2 separate regions of the Homo sapiens genome follow, and region 2 is linked to region 1. The links are contacts of gene promoters, found by promoter capture Hi-C in blood cells and fetal thymus (Javierre and others, 2016). All regions are on one chromosome and are shown on one strand. The core of a region is centred on a gene start or on the middle of the fragment in contact, and the rest is flanking DNA. Distances in the headings are between cores, read along the strand shown. Region 1 holds the start of POFUT4 (protein O-fucosyltransferase 4). Region 2 overlaps USP54 (ubiquitin specific peptidase 54).

Region 1 (3,663 bases), core at 763-3,262:
TGTAACCCCTGACTACTGCAGAAAAGCCTCTCTAAAAGTGCTCTTCTCTACTGCCCAACCCCATTTCCACTCTATAAAAGGTGCTCAAATAGCTGAGTTGATTTTTAGTGCAGTGCAAACTCCTGAACCTGGTATTAATGATATTTATAGCCTTGTCCCTATTTATTTGCCCCATTTTCTCTCTCCCCTGTCTGCACAGGCCCTGTACTCTGGTTCAATCTTTTTGAACCACTACTGGAAACATTGTTCACATAAGCTGATTTTCATACGTTGCCTTGAATTATATTTTACATCTATTCAGCTTTTTCAGCTTGTCTTATCCCCCCAACTAGACTGTTGACACCTTAAATACAGAATGAGCCCATGTGATAATTTCCTCCTGCACCTGCTCAGCACCTAGTGCTACTTAATTGCCCACAGTAAGCAAGTAAGTAAATGATTTGATAGCTGCAGGGGACCCCAGCACTCTTACCTGTCATTCTCAGGAATCTCTTCCACATTGCCAAAGCCAGGTGTGGGCACTGGGCAGTCCATGTGTGAGGGCTGGGCAATGTGGGGCTCAAAGACGGGGCTGTCCCCGGGAGAGGCCGCGTGGGCTTTCTCGGCATCCAGCCGAGCCAGTTCGTAGTCACAGACGAAACACTCGAAGCCGTTGAGGTAGTTAGGCAGCAAAGGATCATTCACTCCCCACTCCCGATGCTTCAGACTATCCAGAAGAAATTGGTTGGTGATGCCCCCAGGTTGCTTGTATGCCAGGTATTTCATATACTCCTCATCATTCTTGTCCAGAAAGTCAATAAACTCTGCCAGCTTCTGAGGAGACTCAAAATCATCAATCAGGATGACGGAGTGATTGTTCGGCATCCAGTCCCTCACAGAGGGAGAACCGCGGTACACGGGCACAGCGCCCAGGTGCATGGGACGCCACAGTTTTTCTGTCATGTAGTCGTTACAGATGGCATTTTCCAGGGCCAAGTGGAACTTATAGCGGGACAAGAAAGCCAAGAGCTCTGGATCCTCGGTGGTGGCCGTGGCTGTGTCCTGTAGCCGCGCGGTAGGCAGCTCCCGATTCTGCAGGCATTTCCCGTAGGAGTCTACCTAGACCGGGTACAGTAAGGCTGTCATGAGGGTGCGGCCCTGGAGGCCTGGACACCTGGAGTCCTGGACACCTGGAGTCCTGGACACCTGGAGTCCTGGCCTCAACCCGCCCTCTCCTTTTCCTTCCCTCCGGCCCGCCCTCACTCACCGGGATGTGGCGCATGAGCTCGCGCACGTAGCGGTCCCGGTCCGCTGGCACGTCGCAGTGTGACTGCAGATAGAGCAGCGGCGCGTAGCCGCGGCGGCGCCACTCCGCGCGTTCCATGGGCGGAGGCACCGGGCGGCGCAGATAGGCGGTCCCGGGCAGCCACTGCAGCGACAGCGGGTAATCCGAGTGGCGACTGAAGGTGGAGGTAAGATTGAAGAGGCGGATGCCCGGGCCGTGGCTCAGCAAGAAGTTGTTGAGGGGCGACTCCTCGTGGAGGAGCGCCCAGCTCTGGTGCGCCAGGCGCGGCAGCGGGGCGGCCGACGCGCGGAAGTCTGTGCCGTAGAAGAGCAGCGCGCGCGTCCGCGAGTCCCTCAGCGCTCGGCGGTTCCGGGACGCCACGCACGCGCCGCGCGCACACTCGATGCGCTCCGAGTCTCCCGGGAAGTGGGGGAATAGCCCTGGGCTCCACCACAGCAGTACCGGCAAGTCCCCCGCCTCCTCCCTCCCTGGCCGCGGCGTCCCAGAGCTGCGCGTCACCCCCACTGCGCCCAGCGCCGAGGGCGGCCGGAAAACCGCGCCATCCCACGGTTCCGCCCACTCCGCCTCCCCGCCGGCCTCCCTCTCCGCTACGGACCCATGGCCGCTGGCTGCACAGACACTGAGCACCCCTAGAAGGACCAACACCACCCTAATGGGGCCGGCCGCCATGTCCACTCCGGCAGCCGGCGCCCCCTCGGCCAGCACCGACCCCGCCCAGCGGATAGTCGTGACCGGACGAGGCCCTACGCCACGGGGGCACGTGGCGCATGCGCAGCTCGCTCAGCCGACGGCCAGGACTAAAAGCAAAGTGAGCTTTCGGGAGTAAAGATGAGGCTAATGGTTACATCTTAATTTATTTTATTTCTTTACAAATTAAAGATGCATTGAAAAATAAACCAATGAAGAGAAATGAGAGGTCCAGAGCAGGGGCATCCCAGGTGGGGAGCAGGCAAGCCTGGCCACCATCAAGCCTAGCCCTTGTCCTGCCCCCAAGCCAGTTGGGGTTGGAAGATAACTGTCAGCCACTCAGTCAATACCAAAGCCCAAGCGGTGTCCCAGCAGGAGAGAACGGCGCTCCAGCTGCCTCTGCCTCTCTCCCCAACAACCCCGGGCCTGGAGAAGCAGTGTTTCTCGTGGGAGCTCAGAGTGGGATGTGAACTGGCTCTGTGAGGTATTGCAAGTTGATGACCAGGCTCCCTAGGCTCCCTACAGAACCATCCAGTGTTGGGGCCTCTCCAGCTGGAAAGGAAGCTGGTACCTCTACCAGATCTTAATATATTTTGCAACTCAGTTCTCCGGTCACCTCTGACAGTGTGCCTCTCTATCCACGGAGTGATCATCAATCATTGCAGGAGAGAGCGAGCGAGCAGTGAAAGCAGAGAAACTTGACTGCTAACCTCCAGGCCCAAGAAGGACTGACCACTTTTCTCTCCACCACCTATGGGCTATACCCCAGCTCTTGTGCACCTATATGTTTTATCCCTAATATAGGAAGTTGTGGATGACACTGAGCCCCCTGTAGTAACCTTAGGATCCCCACTCTTTCCTGCCTGCCCCTCTCCTCTTGGGAGACTGGTCCAAAGGGACACATAATATTGCCAGGGTCTGGGTGCCTCCAAACCCCCAATACCGAATCATATACAGTGAACTGAGAAGCTACATTCATTATGACAGGATTAGCAGGAAAAAGAGGGTAGAATGAGGGAACAGGGGCACCTTCCATCAGCAGGACATGACAGAGTGGCAGGATACTTGAGCCCAGAAAGAAGGTGTCTCCTTATATCTCCCCCTCCCCCCAGAGAGACTGAGGTCAGCTTACATAAGATATGTTACTGTCCCAATTTCTCTGACATCCTGGGGTGCTTTCTGGAAGCTAGCCTGGGCCCTATGCCATTTACCCACTTGCTTTAGCTCAGTAGCTGCCGAATCTCCTTGTGCATATGACAGAGAAAGTCCACATAAGATGCTCCCCCACTCAGACTCTTGTCTTCCACCAGGAAGTGCTTGAACAGCATCTCCATCTTGTCTTCCTGTTTCACCACGGTAAGCTACGGCCAGAATTCAGGGTTCATAAGGCAAGGCCAAAGGAAATTAAACATGCCCAGAAATCTCATTAGGCAGTCACTTACTCATTCCCCACCCAACCCCCACTTCTAGGTGAGGACTTGACAAGGTAAGAAATCCAGGGTTCAGATCAGTGTTACCTTCATGTACCGGGATCTCTGTGCCCGTAAGCTATCAATGAGGCCTCGAACCTTCTTGGACAGTGGATTATCCAGAACTGGCAGAACACTCTAGAACACAAAATTCATTTATCCTTATGGTAAGGCACTCTGAGTTCAGTCAAGGTGGGGCAGCATACATGTATGCATCATCTG
Region 2 (3,663 bases), core at 676-3,175, 250 kb after region 1:
GAAGTCATACTATGCATGTTATTCTCTCAATTTTTCACTTAATTTATTATGGACATCCTTCTGGATCTATTTAGATCCATCTAGAAAGGTTTATAAAATTGGACTTATACTGCTGTGGACATTTTACAAATTCAAAGAGGTGGTGGAAATTAAGGGTGAGAAAATGACATTCTTGAAGCTCCCCAGTCAGTCAGTGACAGCACCTGGTAGAAAGTGTTCTCTAATGATTAGAGCATGATTATGAATTTAACCTACTTGACTTTAATTTAGCTCCATTATTTCCCATTTGGTTTACCTTGGGCAAATTATTTATCCTCCTGTGACTCAGTTTCCTCATTCCTAAAATGGGGGTAATAGTATCTACCTCATAAGTTGTTGTTATGATTAAATGAAATAATACATGTAAACATGCTTAAAACTGTTTCTGGCACATAGTAAGTGCTGAACAAATGTTCAGCGTAATACTATTGTTGTGAAGCACTCCATAAATGTTGTTGTTGTTGTTGTTATTATTATTATTATTTTGAGACGAAGTCTTGCTCTTGTCTCCCAGGCTGGAGTGCAATGGCGCGATCTTGGCTCACTGCAACCTCCACCTCCCGGGTTAAAGTGATTCTCCTGCCTCAGCCTCCCGAGTAGCTGGGATAACAGGCGCCTGCCACCAAACCTGGCTAATTTTTGTATTTTTAGTAGAGACGGGGTTTCACCATGTTGGCCAGGCTGGTCTCAAACTCCTGACCTCAGGTGATCCTCCCGCCTTGGCCTCCCAGAGTGCTGGGATTACAGGCGTGAGTCACCATGCCCGGCCTGTTGTTATTATTATTATTATTCCTGGCCCAAGTGCCATCCGGAATCTAATTATGGAAAGCATTATCCAAAATATAAGCTCCAAATTGGGCCAGGCGCAGTGGCTCACACCTGTATGTAATCCCAGCACTTTGGGAGGCCAAGGTGGGTGGATCACGAGGTCAGGAGTTCGAGACCAGCCTGACCAACATGGTGAAACCCCGTCTCTACTAAAAACACAAAAATTAGCTGGGCTTGGTGGCATGTGCCTGTAGTCCCAGCTACTCAGGAAGCTGAGGCAGAAGAATCGCTTGAACCCGGGAGGCGGAGGTTGCAGTGAGCCAAGATTGCGCCATTGCACTCCAGCCTGGGAACACAGTGAGACTCCGTCTCAAAATAATAATAATAATAATAATAATAATAATAATAATAATAATAAATAATAAATAAATAAACTCCAAATTGAAAGCAAGAATTCCAAAAGGAAAGTATTGCAGTGGTCATAAATTCATCAAGTACTTAGTCTTGGTAATGGAAATGTGGTGACTTCTCCCTTGCTTATATTACAGGTGAGGAGATATCTTCTAAAAGTGAACTGGATGAATTGCAGGAAGAGGTGGCCAGGAGGGCGCAGGAACAGGAACTTCGAAGAAAACGGGAGAAGGAGTTAGAGGCAGCGAAAGGGTTTAACCCTCATCCTAGCCGCTTCATGGACTTGGATGAACTGCAGAATCAGGGTAATTGTTGTGAGCATTAGGTTGTGGGTGATGGGGACAGACAGAAAGGGTAGAAAAAAACATCTAAGCTTGTAAGTTCCCTGTCTTCTCTTTAGCAAAATAATTTTTTAAGTCTTAATTCACCCATTCCAGTGAGAACAAGTTAGAGTAGGATGTGACAAGACTATTGACTGGAGATAGGCACTGATTTGGGGCACATCTATTAAAAGCCTATAGATTAGAGATAGTATATCGTTCATGAATAATGTTTCCCATGAACATCTGTTGAAGGTGTAAATAAAACTAGCCTTGAGTCAGAAATAGCTGAAAATGGCAGTGAGCCACACTGACAGTGAGGGGAATTCTACTTGCTGGGAAGAAACATACCCATGAAATATTCCACCTGGAGCATCAGGGAAGTGGATCTGCCAAACAGGAGCAAGAACAAAGCCAGTTTACTTTTGATACCATGACAATTGATTCTGTAACCTCAAACAATTTGCATGGACTTTACTTCCACAACTGCCCCATGTTAGACTTTTTTTCTTCCTAGAATTTTTTTAGGATGTCACTTTGTACCAAAAGAGACTAGCCTTCAAAATAGTTCAGCCAAGCTGAAGTATCTACCTTAAATAGGCCATATATCTTAGTTTTTTTCCTATAAAATGACTTTATTGTTTTTATAATTCGGAAACCCCACTTACAACAAATTGTGCTAAAGCAGTATGAAGGTCCCAGTTTGTAAGTGCAAGCTTTTAACTTTGCTGGCTGTTTTCTGTTGACCACTTTTCTCTTTTTATATACACTTAGAGAATCTTCTTGGGCCAAGTAATCCTGTTTGGGGGCAGCTTTTTTCCTTTAATACTACTCTCTTTTGATTCAAGGTAATTGTTGCCTTATATTTCCCAAGACATTGTATTAGTTTCCAAATTAGTTTTAAATTCCTAATACTTAGCTGTCTCTATATTTGGATAGTCTTTTTTCCCTTTTTGACCTCAAGCTGTATCACATTGGTGTCCCAGGTTTATTTTGCTTCTGAAAAAAGGGGTCTTGTCATTTCTCTCCTTTTTTTCTCTCTCTGCCAGTTGGGCAATAGATTAAAGTTAGGAGGAGATCCCACTGGCAATATTTCATTGTCAGTTCTCTATACACTGTGGTTCAGCATTTCCTGCATGAGCAAGGAATGGAATGCTAAGATTCTGAAGGATAAGAATTAAAATTTAGTACAGTGATTGATCAACTATAGCTTGTCTAGATCTCCATAGAGTAGAGAACTTAAAAAAAATGGCTCTACGCCCTACCTCTGATTATAAAGGTTGTATACATTTAGTTGATTACAAATATTATGAGAGAACTTCAGGTCTGGGGAGTAAGGGAAACCACACCTCTAGAGATAGAGTGGATCCTGAGTGCCAAGTTCTTCAGAACCAACCTGCTGTTTCCATTGTCTTCCCATTGCTCTCAAAAAGTCATGATGAATTAGGAAGTGAATGTTAGGGATGTGGAAGAGCCTTTCTTACCATGTCCTGCTGGAGGTAAGTGGAGGATGAGGGACATTATGGGAGAAGTGACTCAGACATTTTTTTTTCCCTGCAACCTTGTGAAGGCTCACTGGCAATCCCATTTGTAGGTGAAATTACATTACAGCTTGCTGCCAATGTATGATTATGAGTAAGTAGAGGGCAAGGGATACATAAACATGAGAGTTCTTTTACAAAAATTTTTCTGCCTGTACTTCCTAGCCTTTTCATCCGGTATTGTTTTTAGACTCTTCTGCACCTGCTTTGGCACACATTCACTTTGAGAGGAGGATGGAATATTCCCTGCTTGCTGTATGGGAAGGTGACTTCTTTGGGGGTAGTTTTGGTGAGGAATAGCATGATGAAAGTAAATACTTAGCAACGCTTATGACAAGTATGTATATGCAAACCAGGAATGAAGGCAGTTCAACTGCCCTGGCAGATACATTGGATTAGGAAGTGTAGACCATCTGTGACCAAGAAGTGCACTGATTTTCCAGTTTAGGGTGGTGCATAGAGGACTGTGAATTGGTGAAGTAAATAAGTGGTATGAATGGCTGTCCACAGAATAATGAAGCTACCTTTGCCATAACATAGCAGTGAACGTCTTAGTTGACATCTAGGGTGTTCTGACACTAGTT

The links. The method cuts DNA at HindIII sites, captures the fragments that hold promoters and counts their contacts. A CHiCAGO score of 5 or more calls a contact.
Region 2: a contact is called between a fragment that was not itself captured here and the fragment with the promoter of POFUT4 in region 1, in 3 of 17 cell types (M0 macrophages, M1 macrophages and M2 macrophages). The highest score is 6.6, in M0 macrophages.

The regions. Positions count from the first base shown.
Region 1 is chr10:73,770,625-73,774,287 of GRCh38, reverse strand. It overlaps POFUT4 (protein O-fucosyltransferase 4), which reads right to left and starts at 2,012. Exons shown (of 3, transcript NM_173540.3): 1 at 1,247-2,012; 2 at 473-1,098. The coding sequence starts at 1,954. It overlaps SEC24C (SEC24 homolog C, COPII component), which reads right to left. Exons shown (of 23, transcript NM_198597.3): 22 at 3,490-3,579; 23 at 2,127-3,333. The coding sequence ends at 3,193. RefSeq lists enhancers at 701-750, 595-1,125, 1,411-1,520, 2,111-2,290 and a silencer at 1,731-1,780. The HindIII fragment of the contact is 15,546 bases long and covers 1-3,663 here.
Region 2 is chr10:73,521,443-73,525,105 of GRCh38, reverse strand. USP54 (ubiquitin specific peptidase 54) reads left to right here. Exons shown (of 24, transcript NM_001391956.1): 17 at 1,356-1,523. Among named protein-coding and RNA genes, the nearest start is that of PPP3CB, 27 kb to the right of the region's middle. The HindIII fragment of the contact is 663 bases long and covers 1,594-2,256 here.